Linked DNA regions of Homo sapiens: regions 1, 3, 4 and 5 are each linked to region 2. The links are contacts of gene promoters, found by promoter capture Hi-C in blood cells and fetal thymus (Javierre and others, 2016). All regions are on one chromosome and are shown on one strand. The core of a region is centred on a gene start or on the middle of the fragment in contact, and the rest is flanking DNA. Distances in the headings are between cores, read along the strand shown.

Region 1 (2,700 bases), core at 197-2,696, 440 kb after region 2:
AGGCCAGATGACCACTGAAGTTGAGACACTGTTTGGGCTGCAAATGACAAAACCCAACTCAAACCAGCTGCAGCTGGACAAGACATGCCTTATCTCAAATACCTGGACACAATAGAGGGTCGGGGGCCTCAGCCAGAAATGGATCCAGGGACTCAAGCAATGCCCCAGGGTGCATGCACACTGGCTCCCTCTTTCTGTCTCTTTCACCTGTGTTGGCATCACACTCTCCTGCTGCAGACAGGCCCCCATGGGAGAGGGCACAGGAGCTCATCATAGTAGCTCCACCTCAGGTTCTCATGTGGCCATTATCTCCCAGCCGCATCTAAACAGAAAGTGCTGGGGGGCAGCTCTGGTTGGTCCTGCTTGGGCTGAATGCCCACCGTGGACCAATCTCTGGCACCCCAGCACCCAAGTCCTTCTTCAAAACCTCTGTGGCACCGACAGCCCAGCCCCCTGGGTGTATTTGCATGTGTGTGTGTGCACGTGGACACACATATGTGCCAGTGAGCTTGTGAGTGTGTCTGCATCACTCAGAAGCCGGGATCGGGATCAGGACCAGGATCCCTCCTTGTGGGTCTCTCCAGCCCTCACCTGAGCACACAACAGGCCCTCAACAGAGTTGCATGGGTCCTGGAAACTGAGGGTCACTGAGAGCAATGACTGAGGGTCGTGTGCTCAGCACTAGAGCAGACTTCACAGCCCAGGCCCGCTGGTGCTGGGGTCCCCCACACACCTGCCCACGCCTGCTGCCCTCCTGTGGCTGGGAGCGCACCCTTCCCTCTTGTACTCTGCAGCCCCACGGTTCAGTCCCTTGCATTGGATTGGGCGGGAGGCTCCTCCCTAGCACCTCTCCACCCGGCTGCCCTTGTCATTCTCTGCGTTAAACATCCCTCCCCCATCTCACAGGACAAGGGCTTGCACCTCTGCCTGCCTGGCCTCCTCGCCTCCCCTGGCACATTTCCTCAGGGATGGGTCTGGACAGCTGTGGGAGGAGCCACCCGCTCAGGGCACTCTACCTCCCACTCCAGGCCAACGCCACAGGGGGCGGTGGGCACGTGCAGATGGTGCAGAGGGCCATGAAGGACCTGACCTATGCCTCCCTGTGCTTTCCCGAGGCCATCAAGGCCCGGGGCATGGAGAGCAAAGAAGACATCCCCTACTACTTCTACCGGGACGACGGGCTCCTGGTGTGGGAAGCCATCAGGACGTGAGCGCCCGCGGGGCGGTGGTCCTGGGGGAGGAGCCGGGACCCCTGCCTGACTACCTGGGGCGGGCCTGGCCCCTCCACCGCTAGCGCTGAATGGGGACGGGGTGGGGGAGTCCCAGCGTCCGTGAGGGGGTTGCCGCCGGGCACCGCTCCGCAGACCTGGCTGGGTCGCCCACCCCGGCTGCGCCCCCTGAGCCAGGTTCACGGCCGAGGTGGTAGACATCTACTACGAGGGCGACCAGGTGGTGGAGGAGGACCCGGAGCTGCAGGACTTCGTGAACGATGTCTACGTGTACGGCATGCGGGGCCGCAAGTCCTCAGGTAGGGCCTCCGGGACGTCTCCGGACCCGGCTCCCCCGCAGTCGGCAGCGCTGGCCCCTCCGCCACCCCTCCGGGGTGTCCTGCCCAGGGTGCCCTCCGGCCTTGGGGCAGGGAATCCGGGCACGGGGTGGGCGCCGGGCCCTGGGGTCCTCAGGGACTGGGCCTCAGCCCGCCGGTGGTTCCACCCTAGGCTTCCCCAAGTCGGTCAAGAGCCGGGAGCAGCTGTCGGAGTACCTGACCGTGGTGATCTTCACCGCCTCCGCCCAGCACGCCGCGGTCAACTTCGGCCAGGTAGGCAGGGCCGGGCCCGCTGGGCAGGGCTCCCTTCTCAAGGCCGCTGCCTCCTCCCCCGCCCCGGTTCTGCACGCGTACTGCACCCTCGGACAGCCTCGGGGCCTGGCACGGGACTTGCAGGATGGATTCTGCCCGCTCAGCCAAGGGCGCTGGCCGCGGGGAAAGAGGATGGACGGACTGCAGGGCCCGCTGGAGTTGGGGGGCACGGGGAGGACGGGGCCCAGGGGGCAGCTGGGCAGCAGGGCTTCGGGGGTGCCCACGCTTGCTGGCGGTCGTCTCCGCAGTACGACTGGTGCTCCTGGATCCCCAATGCGCCCCCAACCATGCGAGCCCCGCCACCGACTGCCAAGGGCGTGGTGACCATTGAGCAGATCGTGGACACGCTGCCCGACCGCGGCCGCTCCTGCTGGCATCTGGGTGCAGTGTGGGCGCTGAGCCAGTTCCAGGAAAACGAGGTGAAGCTGGGCAGGGCGGGGCACAGCCCCAGGTCACCCCAGGTTAAGCGGTTCCTCAGCCTCAGGGCTTTGTGACTCGGGCCCCAAGGCTCACTTGGAGCAAAGGAATCCTGACTTCCAAGGCTGGAAGGGCCCAGAAGGCTGCAGCCGCCACCAGGTCCCCCGGCCTCAGCCTGGACAGAGCTCAGGGTGTGCAGGGCAGGAGAGCACACAGCCCAGGCTTTGCTCACTGTCACCAGAGGGTCGTGTGTGACGCCCCCTCCCCCCAGCTATTGACAAAGTTCTTGCACATGTGTTTTACCCTGGTACTCCAGAGGGAATGACCAAGAGTTTCCTGGGTTCCTTCCGGACACGTGCATCTCATTTAACCTAACAACTGAATCCGGTGTGTCTTCGTGGATGCACCCGCTTTGGGGTAGCTCA
Region 2 (2,700 bases), core at 181-2,680:
TGTATTACTTCAGGCAGGTCAGCCTCTCTTGCTTCAGTTTACTGATTTGCAAGACAGATATGATAATCTGTGCTTCATGAGACTATGGTGAAGATGAATAACCAGAAGATAAGATGTAAAAGTACTTTGTAAACAATAAGGCATCTTATAAATTCATTCATTCAACAGCTATTTACTGAGTGTCTGTTCCCTGCTGAGCACTGTTTTCAGCACTGCAGACACAATAAAGAACTAAAGAGACAGATCATGAGAGGCATCGGGTGCCACTGCGAGGTCCTTGGCTTTGCTCTAATAAGTTGGGAAGCCTTTGAAGGTTTTGAACAAATGAATGACATGATCTAACTTAGGTTTAAGAGGATTACTCTGGGGCCGTGAATAGACTGTAGGGCAACCCGTCTGGAAGCCAATATAATAATCCAGAAGGTGGATGAAGGTGGCTTGGTGGTTATAGCAGTGGAAGTGTTGAAAGTGGCTTGATAATGAATATATTTTAACGATGAAGCCGACAGAATTTGTGGATAAATCACAGGTGAATTTTGGATGAAAAAAAGAAGAGACAACAGTGACATCAAGGTTTTTGGCTTGAGCAACTGGAAAGATGATGGGATCTTCACCCATCCCTGGGAAGAAGACTGTTGCAAGAACAGGTTAGGTAGATATCAGGAATTCATTTGGGGGGTATGTTAGGTTTGGGATGTCCATTACACATGCAAATGCAGCTCTTGAGTAATCAGTTCGATATACAAGTCTAAAGTTCAATAACATTTATGTCCCACAGTCAGACTGGAGTTACCAATGCGGGAGTCTTCAGCATGCAGCAATAGCATTGGAAGCCAAAAGGCGGAGGAGCTCCCCAGGGAGTGGGGGAACACGGAGGTCAGCTGGTCAGATGACTGAGCACGGCCAGGATGGCTGAGGAGGAGCCTGGAAGGAATAAGAACAAAGAGAGATCATTACTAATGAGCAACAAAAGGGGTGTGTTGAAATCAGACTTTGGAGCCACAAAGAACCATTCCAATTCTGGGTCGTCCGCTTACACACGGTGAACGGAGCACATTTCTTCTCTGAGCCTTGGTTCCTTTCCTGTAAATGGAGTATAACCACTCCCATCTTGCAGGAGCTTTTTGGTGATAATTAAGGTGACTTCGTGAAAAGTACCAGGGTCTCAAAAATCTCAAAATTTGTGGAAAGTATGCAGTTTCTAGGTTGGAGAGGCTAGAGTTTGGTTTCAAAAGCCTCGACCACACACAGGGGCGGTTACAGCTCTTGAGGTCCCGGGGGTCACAGGACGCCTTCCGAGTTGGGGGGAGGAGAAAACAAAACCACAGGAAGAAACGAACAACGCTTTCGGGTGGGCCCGGGACCATAGAGGGTCGCTCCGCCACTTTCCTAGAGCGACCGCGGCGGCGCCAGAGCGCGGCGAGGCCCTCACTTCCGGCGGCGCGGGAGGCGCCCAGCGAGCCAGAGTGGTGGCTGGTCCCGCGCGGTGAGTGGGATTGGGGCACTTGGGGCGCTCGGGGCCTGCGTCGGATACTCGGGTCCGCTCGGGAGCGCGCTGGCCGCAACGAGGGCGGCGCGGGCCCGGGCGATGGCGTGGCTTGCGTCTCCCGCCTCCGGGCAGGGCCTGGCCGCCGGGCGGGGGCGGGAGGGCCACGCGGGCCCAGGGTGGGGCCGCGGCCTGCGCGGCGGGCGGGCCGGGTCAATGAGGAGCGGCCGGCGGAGTGCTGGGAACGGGAGGCTTGGACTGGGGGCCCGGGCGAGGCGCGGCCCGCGGCGGGTGGAACTGGGCGGGTGAGCAGCAGCCCCGGCCCCTTCCGTCGCTCGGAGCGTTCGAGGACTAGATACGTGGAACAAATGCTTAGGCAGCACAGGGCTGCTCTGAGCGGTTTTCAGATTCAGACTCATTGCAACTTCTAACATCTTGATGGTGTTGCCACTTTATCATTACCCTCCCCATTTTACGAGGAAACTGAGGCACATTCCAGTTAGCTGGGTGTGCAAGAACAGCAGCTTCTGTCACTCAGGTTTAACTTCGTGCTTGCCCCTGCTGGGGAGCTATGCAAAGCACGGGTCGCCGCGCTGGACTGAGCAATGGAAGATGTGGCTGCCACTAAGAGTACAGGCTCTGGAGTCAAACTGCTAGGGTCTGGGAACCCGGCCAGTGCCTTCTAGCATTGTGCCCTCGTTTCCTTAACTTAAAACGGAAATAACTGCATAAAGGTGCCAGGAGAATTAAAGAGCTAGCACAGAATCAAGTTACACAGTGTCTGGCACATACTAGTATGATTGCCTCATCCGTAGGTGGATTTGACAGTCTGAGTTTCTGACTAGATCTGACTTCCATTGTATTAAATGCGTGTGCTTTTATGTATAATGACCATTATAGTTATTAAAAAAAAAAAAAAGCAACACCAACACCATGTACCTAACACAATGTCTCCTGTGTGGTAGATGTTCTGTAAATATTTGCTTAAGTTAAGGAGTGGGTAGTCCTAACTGTAATCTTGTGTTATATGCGGCTTACTCTTACGCTGACCATAATTACAGCTGATGTAATTATTAAATATCCAGATAAAGTCCTGGACCTAAAGTCTCAATTATACAATAAGATGAAAGGAAGGCAAGAAAAATTATGTTTTTGTTTTCATTTATTTGCTTTATATGTTTGTATGCAAAGAAACCCAGAATAATTGTTTCTAT
Region 3 (2,700 bases), core at 58-2,557, 420 kb after region 2:
TCAAGGCACTGCAGGCTATTCTGGAGGGTACTGGCCTGTCTCTTCGACAGGTGAGGTGCAGTAGAACAGCATCCCGTATAGATGCCAGTTTCTGACCTGGTTCTGAAAAGCCAGTCACCTACCTCTGCAGAGCTGCCTGGAGGGGGCGGGGGTTGTGAGGACCCCTGAGAGCTTGGTGTGAAGGGGCTCTGCAGAGGGAGGCATGGCTAGTGTGCGCAAGGTGACCTCTCTCCTGGTCTGCAGGATGGAGAACCTGTTCATCAACCGCTTCATGCACATGTTCCAGTCTTCTTGGAATGACTTCGCCGACTTTGAGAAAATCTTTGTCAAGATCAGCAACACTATTTCTGGTGAGTGTGCCTCTGGGGGCCCAAGTGGTGCTGGGGACAGGGGATGCTGCTCTCCTGTCTGATACTTGCCGGGAAATTGACAAGGGCCTTCCTGCCTGCTGCAGCATGGGGGCCTCGCTGCCACCATGCCACCCTGGACAGCACCCCCTACACTCCACACCTTTTACCATCACTGTGGTCACCCTTGTGCCCAGAGGTTTCTCCTCCTCAGATATTCAAGCTCGAGCACCCTCAACCTCATTTCACTATCAAAAGTCTCAAAAGTATCAGAACTTTTTCTTGGCACAAATCAATCATTTGTGCTTCTGAACAGAGCAAAGGCAGAACTTGGCTTGTGTTTTAGGTATTTACACAAAAGCAACTTTGGGTTCCTTTGGACTAGGATGTGTTTGATGAGAGCACTAGCTTCATAGTGGCCAGTCATGGCATGGGAAGGACGTTAGGAAGGCAGGAATGGCTGGACAAGAAGAGGTGCTGAAATCAGGACATGGGGAACCAAACTTGGCAAACTGCCCCCAGGGACTCTCCTCCACGCCCTCCTTCTTCCATCCTGGACACTCCATGCTGGGCTGAAGGACCTGAGTGCTCCAGGAGGCTTCTGAGCCACGAAGGGCCAGCTCAGGTATGATGAGTTGGTGCCACAGCCTGACCCAGTGATGGGCAGGGGGCAGCAGTTGGAGCTGTGCCCATCCAGGGAGCACTCGGGAGAGGAGACCAAGCAGGGACTCTGCTCTTAGGTGAGGTCAGGAGGGCCATGGCCCTGGCTGCCCTCTACTCAGAGCTCAGGGTGGGCCTCGCTTTTCTCCTGGTAGAGCGGGTCATGAATCACTGGCAGGAAGACCTGATGTTTGGCTACCAGTTCCTGAATGGCTGCAACCCTGTGTTGATCCGGCGCTGCACAGAGCTGCCCGAGAAGCTCCCGGTGACCACGGAGATGGTAGAGTGCAGCCTGGAGCGGCAGCTCAGCTTGGAGCAGGAGGTCCAGGTAGGGGTTGATGGGCTGGGGAAGTGGCCAAGGTCACAGTCTGTCAGGTGGAAGCCAGTTCCTCCTGGCCAGTGCTCATAGGCCACCAAGACGCTAACTGCAGGCCCATCTGGCCTACAGCAGCCGCTTCCTTTTCCTGGCAGCAGTGTCAGCCAGGGTCCTGGGCATTATGCAGACTGTCTTGTGCAACATCAGAGGAGGAATTGCGGGGAATGTTTCTCCATGATGCTCGAGTCTGGGAACATAATGTCAATATTTTCACTATCAGTATCAATAATTACAGGAGCTACCCTTGATTAGGGGCCTGTGGTGGGACAGGCATTGTGACAGGTGCTTTACACACAAGGTCATCAGTTGTCACCCACCTTGCAAAGGGGAGAACACTGGAGAAAGAAGCAGACCTTGTGTGAGAATAAAAAAGGGGCACGAGGAGAAACCCAACAGAATGGTTGATTTTCTCGTTAGAAATGCTGCTGCCCATGCTCCTGTCGCACCCTCCTCCCCACCCTCACCTGCAGACTCAGCTGCCTCCGGCTGCAAGGCTGACCTAGTCTTGAGACAGAAGAAGTTCAAACCAACTCCACCTGGATCTGGTGGGGCTCAGCAACAGGCGCTGGCCCATCAGCCTGCCTCTTCCCCATGGATCCAGCGTGATGGGGCCTCCTGCCACCCAGGCCCTGCTGCCTATCCCCAGGTGTCCAGGTGGCCTCTGCTGCTTCCAGTCTTTTGAGCTCAGCTTACCCTGAGGCCCTAGTTGGAGAGGGATGGTTGGTGCCCTTTAGAGATAAACCTACAGCCCCAGTACCTGGCCCACCTGAATCTAGAGGGCCACCCACCCAGCTGAAGTCCCTGGGCAAGTCTCCTGCCCCAGTGCAGGCAGTGTTTCCTAACCTCCTCCTCCTCCTGCACCCAACCAGGCCCAGAACACTTCCTGGTCATGTGAACAGCTGACAGTTACAATCCCCCACACACTGAGAGAGCATCTGTGTTCCTGAGTGGACTGAATTGCTAGATGTAGTAACATTGATTTGGTGGCTATAGGTTTCAAACTTCAAGTCAGAGATCATAGAACTTTAAGCCATATAGAATCCTAGAATTGGAAGACTCTGAGCAGCCATCTCTGCACCCAGCAGCCAAGGAGTGGCCATCCTCAGCACCTGGCAGGGCATCAGCCTCCCACTGGGAGTCCCGGCCACCTCCAGGGCACGTGGGTTATGAGTCACCTTTCCTTTGAGCTGACCCACCCCTCACTGACTAGACTCTTAAACACACACTGCCCCGTCTAATACACACCAGCATGATTCTTAATCCCCACAGTCATTCACGCTGCCCATCTGGCAGCACCTTAATGATCTACAGCAAGCT
Region 4 (2,700 bases), core at 90-2,589, 380 kb after region 2:
GATACTTGAATATGTTCAACAAGTGTAGAAAAGTGTTATAATGATTCATGCTTCTTAAGTCAGTGAGTATTCTTACATTCATGAAAAATTAATTCTAGAATACCTCCTTCTTGTGAATGGGAATATATTAGTGGAGCATAAATATTTCTTTGGTATGACCCTCAATCCGTCTCTCATCTCCCAGTCTCCCCCTCTGAGCCATCTTTTCCCTACATTCTGCCCCCTCTTCTGCCTCCTCTTCCTTCCCCTGCTCCCAGTTCCCTAAATGCCCCCCGTTTCTGCTCTCTACCCTACAACTCTCCCTTCTTTTTTGCTCTGAATTTTCCTCTACACTCTGTCTTCCAGCCACCTCTCAGAGGCCCCTTCTCTGCTCCCTCAATCTCCGGCTCTCTGTCCCACATTTTCCCCCTTCTCTGCCCCTTGGTCTCCCTATCCACTACCCCAATCCCTCTCTCCGTCCCTTGTTTTCCTCAGCTCTTCCCCATAGCCTCCCCCTCTCTCATCCCGAGTCTCTGTTTTGTCTGGCCCCCAATCTTCCTCTCTGCTCTACAGCTTCCTCCTCCCACAGCCCCTCATTAGTCCCCCTCCAAGATGGGTAGTCTGGGGGTGGGGCACACATCCTTGCTTCCGCAGAGAGATCCGTCTCCCTGTCCCAGCAACAGCAGAGATCTGATGAAAGACAGATGAAAACTTTCCTAAAATGCTGATAGAAAGCTCACATGAAAACTGACCAACTGACTCTTTGCCGAAATATTCAAAAGCTTTAAAACTACATATCCAATAAAAAGTTAAAAGCAACAAGCAAAATCAGCAAAGTGGCCCCTTGTGAAATGAGGCCGGTGAGTTGCAGGTTTCCCTTGTTTCTCTCCAGCATCTGCACCACCACGCCACCCACTTCTGTCCCCAGAAACTGTGTCCAGCCTTCCTCCTCCCACGTGTGAATCCCCCGGGGACCCTGCCCTCCCAGTTCCCCACATCTGAAATGTGCTACCCATGCCCATCCTCCTACTCATCTGCCCTCTGAAATCTGATCAGCCCCTAAAAGCTGCCTGAAATACCCTCTTATGAAGCTTTTCCCTGTCCTTCCATGCCACTCCACATTGCCCCTTTACACTCCATCCAGGGTACAAACCAGGGCTCAAAGCTGGGCCTTCTAGCTTCCGGTTCAGGGCTTTTCTCAAGATGTGGCCTTGGGGAACTGTGGGAGGAACCTGGGCTTGGCCATCACACAGGTGTAGGTTCTGATCTTGAGGCCACCATTGCTCTCTGAGCCTCAGTTTCTATCTGTAAAGCAGGATAATCACTCGCTCGGCCATTCCCAGGCCCAGTGCTTCCTGAGGGCCTGTTGGGGGGTGTCCACTGTTGATAGTGCCCACCATAATTCAGTGTGTCACCTGAGAATTTAATGTGTCACAGCAAATAGACAAATATAGCATCAGCCCAGTGTACTTGGCCCAGAGAGGAGGGAGGAAGGTGGCCATTGTAGTTCCACAAACCTTCCGAAGATATTTTGCAGTTTGACACATGTGACCCTGGTATTTTCCTGGAAGGAGGCCTTTATCTGTCATTCTTCCATTAGTGGCCCCTGGGATGTTAGAACCACAGCCATCAAGCTTTGTCTTTTACTCCCTGAGTTGGGTCAAGGCTGGAGCCCTCTGCCCCTTGTTCACCTCTTATCATATTCAGGCTTGAAGCCAGCACCAGGAAAGTGGCTGGGCTGGCCATAGACCAGCCAGACTGCAGGCCTGGCCCCCTCCTGCTGTGGAAGTCCCTGTCAGATGGCAGATGGAGTCCTTGTAAATCTGCCTAGTGATTTCACCCCAAGTGAAACTCAGGGGCTCTCCACCAGGTGCCTGCAGGTGTAGGTAGGGCAGGGGGCCAGGAGTGTCCCAGTCCCCTGTGACTGCACCACAGGTGTGCTGGAGGGTCACCCCACTGTCCACTCCCTCAGAGAAGCTGCTCAGTCTCTTCGTGTGGGTCGTCACCCCCAGGTAGACATCGGGCCCTCCCTGTGGGACCTGCCCAGTCCTGGAATGCCTCCTCAGCCCATCTCCCTCCCCTCTTAGTCCAAGGTACTGGGAGCCTCCCTCCCATGAGAGTGTCCCTGTTAGCTCCTCCCACCCCACCCCAGCTTTCCTGTCATCTATCCCCTGGGGACACCTTCCTCCCTCTCCAGCCCCTCAGAGCCATAGGAAAGCTACTTCCCCTGCAGCAGCCACACTCAGACCAGGCCCGGGCCTCTGGTGGCCGCCCCTCAGTCCTCACCGCACACAGACTTGCTCTGCCTGCCCCACCAGCATTCAGAATGCCTCCCACTCTCCCTCTGTCCTCACAGCCCTGTCTCCAGCCTTTCAGGAGTTCCTTCTGGGCTTTGAGTGAAGGAGTTTGAGGTCACAGGTTCAGTTTCCTCCTCCCATGTGTGCTCCAGTTACTCGGATTGGCACATGTAGTCACGAAGTGGCCGTGACGCAGGGGCCCATGCTAGCTCACAGGCGGTGTGGGGCCTGGTGCCCTGCAACCCCCTGGATTCAGGAAGGGGCACTGGTGGTTCTGATGCACACAACCGGTGGCCTGTGCCTCTGGAGAAAGGAGGCCACCCAGGATGGTGTCATTTCATTTTCTCAATGGTCCTGCAAGTGAGGGGTATCTCCTTTGGGTAGATGAAGAAACAGCTTCAGAGAATGAAGCAATGTGCCCAGG
Region 5 (2,700 bases), core at 142-2,641, 400 kb after region 2:
TTTGTGCACAAGCCTCTCAGCTCAGGCACCATATGATGTGTTTCCAGACTTCCATACCTGGTGCAGTGCACACGTTGTGCTTGAGCTCTGCCTCCCATCCCAAAGGGCTGTTGTTTCTATGCTTCTTCCTTGGCTTCCCTCCCTGTTTCAGACACCTATGGCAAAGCCCCTGCAGCCAGTTCTCAGAGCACTTCTGGCCTGTGAATCTGGGTTAAGATAAAATGCCCATAAAATTCATTTAATTTGTTATAAGCCACTAACACTTTAGTATGAATTAGTGGGGCTCTAATTAGACTTTGCTATCTACTCATCTAAGATAACACAAACTAGCCCAATTATCTGGGAGCTACTTAACATTATCATAATCTTGCAGCAGGGGGCTTCTGGTGAGATCGTTTCCCCCTTTCTTAGATTTAATCATTTTTTTCTTCCTCCTTCCACTCATCTGTCCTTTTCAGAAACCCTCCTTTGCTTCCGTTCAGGAAACACTGAACTTTGCACTGTCTGCACAATCTTGGAGTTCCTCTTTCTCAGAAGATTTCTCAGGCTTCCAGATCAGAGTTTGGAAGTAAAGCAATGACTAAGAATAGTCCACACTATGTCAGAAAGCTGGCGCTTCTTGCAGGCCCTCCTTACTCACTCAGCCACGCAGGGAGAAGGAGAAGCAGACCCAGGTCATAGCCCACAGCTTGTGCTCTCCCACTGTGACCACATCTGTCTGTGTTACATGCACACTCACACACAGCAGTAAATGGCAAAGTGTAGGTGTTTGTTAATCGATATAATTTAATCTAATCATTATGTGACCTGCACTTTTCACTCATCACTAAGTATTGAAGAGGATCTGGTTGACACAGATAGATGTGGTTCATGCAGTTAACTTCTTCATGGCATATCAGTATCTGAATAACCCATGCGCTCGTCCGCTCTCCTGCTGATGGGCAGGCGGGCTGTCTTTAATTTCTAGCTGTTGCAAACCAAGCGACAGTGAGCTTTCTCACACATCTCTCTGTGCTCTCATGGAAGAGTTACTGTAGGGAATATTCCAAGAAGTAGAGTTGCAGGGTTGCAGACCACGTGTTTTTAAGCTTTCTAGATATTGCTGATTGTTTTCCAAAGGCATTCTGCCAGTAGACACCCCAGTAACTGTTTCTGAGATTCACTGTTTCCCTGCATCATCAACACTTCGCATCTTCAGATGTTTTCATTCTTGCGTGTGAAATAGTATCTCATATATTTTCCCCTTCTTAAACTGCTACTATTTCTTGCCTTCTGGGAATGCACCATAATTTACTTAGCCATTCCCCTATTCACTGACGTTCAGTTCATTTCCCATTTGTAGATGTGTTTGTTTGTTTTGGGTATTGCAGTACAAACAATGCTGCCAGAACCAACCTTGTACAAACATCTTGATGTACTGGTGCTTTAATTAATGGCAGATCCATTTCCAGAACTCAGATTGCTGGAACAAATCAGCATTTTTTCATCTTAAGAAATACCGACAAAAATCCTTTCACAAAATTGTATCGTAATTTGCGGTCCTACCAGCTGTGTATGAAAAGATACTTTTGCCCATCCATACATTTGTCAGTACCCGATGACCTTGTTTGACAGTCTAAAAATCCCTAAGACCTTGTGGTTGTTTTAGTCTGCACTCCCCTGACCACTAATAAGCATCACTGCATTGCCTATTTATAAGCTTTTTTTCCCTATTGTTCTTTCAATTATTAATCTAAAGGAGCTCTTTCTATATCAGGATAGTATCCGTTTGTTACATATGTATAGCATTTATTATTTGTCTTCTGTTGCTTTTGCCACAGGAGATTTTAGTTCTTTATTTTATTAACTATGTATTGTTTACATCTATAACTTTTGGGTTTCCTCCTTTGCTTAAGAAAACCCTTTCCATCCCAGTGTTACACAAATACTTCCCCCGTAATTTTGTCTAATACTTTTATAATTTCCCCTTTGAGTTTAGAGCTTTCATTCATCTACCTTTTTTTTTTTTTTTGAGACAGAGTCTTGCTCTGTTTCCTAGGCTGGAGTGCAGTGGCATGATCATGGTTCACTGCTGCCTCAAACTAACCCAGGCTCAATCCATCTTCCCACGTCAGCCTCCCAAGTAGCTGGGGCTACAGGCGTGCGCCACCATGCCCCACTCCTGCCACGTGTTTTCATACATACCTGGGTGGAACTCTCCCGGTAGCATTCGTTCCTGACTTGGATGACAGGGATGATGTCTTTCCTCCTGACTTGGATGACAGGGATGATGATACCCACGGTACAAGCTGGCATAGGATGGCAGTCATGAGCTCTGGATTCGAGTGTCTGGGCTCAACTCACACTTACTGGCACTTTCTCCAGTCCTGTGAAAGTTGTTTAATCTGTCTGTGCCTCACTTCCCTCATCTGTAAAATGAGGGAAATAACAGTGCCTTCCTTTTAGGGGTTTGAGATAATAGGTTAAACCATGAAAACACAGAGAATAGTAGTAGGCACATAGAAAGCACTGGATAAGTGTTGGCGAGTTTTGTATTATGTATACATAGTCTCTGGGTCTGTTTCCGCACTTTATGTGTTAGCCTATTTTTCTACTCGAGACCCCAGCACCAGCTTTTGGTTATCATAACTTTCTAATAAATGTTAATGTCTGTTACATATCTCACTGTTCTTTCTTAAGTTTTTCATAATGAGAATTACT

The links. The method cuts DNA at HindIII sites, captures the fragments that hold promoters and counts their contacts. A CHiCAGO score of 5 or more calls a contact.
Region 1: a contact is called between a fragment that was not itself captured here and the fragment with the promoter of ZNF22 in region 2, in 1 of 17 cell types (fetal thymus). The highest score is 5.2, in fetal thymus.
Region 3: a contact is called between a fragment that was not itself captured here and the fragment with the promoter of ZNF22 in region 2, in 3 of 17 cell types (erythroblasts, endothelial precursors and fetal thymus). The highest score is 7.0, in erythroblasts.
Region 4: a fragment that was not itself captured here is called in contact with the fragment with the promoter of ZNF22 in region 2 in 1 of 17 cell types (M2 macrophages); the score reaches 5.1 in M2 macrophages.
Region 5: a fragment that was not itself captured here is called in contact with the fragment with the promoter of ZNF22 in region 2 in 1 of 17 cell types (erythroblasts); the score reaches 6.1 in erythroblasts.

Annotation. Positions count from the first base shown.
Region 1 is chr10:45,442,010-45,444,709 of GRCh38, forward strand. ALOX5 (arachidonate 5-lipoxygenase) reads left to right here. Exons shown (of 14, transcript NM_000698.5): 10 at 1,029-1,207; 11 at 1,407-1,528; 12 at 1,719-1,819; 13 at 2,107-2,277. LOC102724323 (a long non-coding RNA gene) reads right to left here. Exons shown (of 3, transcript NR_120674.1): 3 at 2,559-2,700. Among named protein-coding and RNA genes, the nearest start is that of ALOX5, 69 kb to the left of the region's middle. RefSeq lists enhancers at 161-931, 932-1,700. The HindIII fragment of the contact is 3,018 bases long and covers 1-2,700 here.
Region 2 is chr10:44,999,493-45,002,192 of GRCh38, forward strand. It overlaps ZNF22 (zinc finger protein 22), which reads left to right and starts at 1,431. Exons shown (of 2, transcript NM_006963.5): 1 at 1,431-1,486. LOC124902530 reads left to right here. Exons shown (of 3, transcript XM_047426129.1): 3 at 1,288-2,700. The coding sequence ends at 1,917. It overlaps ZNF22-AS1 (ZNF22 antisense RNA 1), which reads right to left and starts at 1,311. Exons shown (of 4, transcript NR_126421.2): 1 at 1,038-1,311; 2 at 794-924. RefSeq lists a silencer at 1,471-1,820 and an enhancer at 1,547-2,047. The HindIII fragment of the contact is 6,687 bases long and covers 1-2,700 here.
Region 3 is chr10:45,423,798-45,426,497 of GRCh38, forward strand. It overlaps ALOX5 (arachidonate 5-lipoxygenase), which reads left to right. Exons shown (of 14, transcript NM_000698.5): 5 at 244-350; 6 at 1,163-1,335. Among named protein-coding and RNA genes, the nearest start is that of ALOX5, 51 kb to the left of the region's middle. RefSeq lists an enhancer at 2,070-2,570. The HindIII fragment of the contact is 2,778 bases long and covers 1-2,696 here.
Region 4 is chr10:45,377,120-45,379,819 of GRCh38, forward strand. The region is part of intron 1 of ALOX5 (arachidonate 5-lipoxygenase); the gene reads left to right. Among named protein-coding and RNA genes, the nearest start is that of ALOX5, 4.3 kb to the left of the region's middle. The HindIII fragment of the contact is 543 bases long and covers 1,069-1,611 here.
Region 5 is chr10:45,403,744-45,406,443 of GRCh38, forward strand. The region is part of intron 3 of ALOX5 (arachidonate 5-lipoxygenase); the gene reads left to right. Among named protein-coding and RNA genes, the nearest start is that of ALOX5, 31 kb to the left of the region's middle. The HindIII fragment of the contact is 611 bases long and covers 1,087-1,697 here.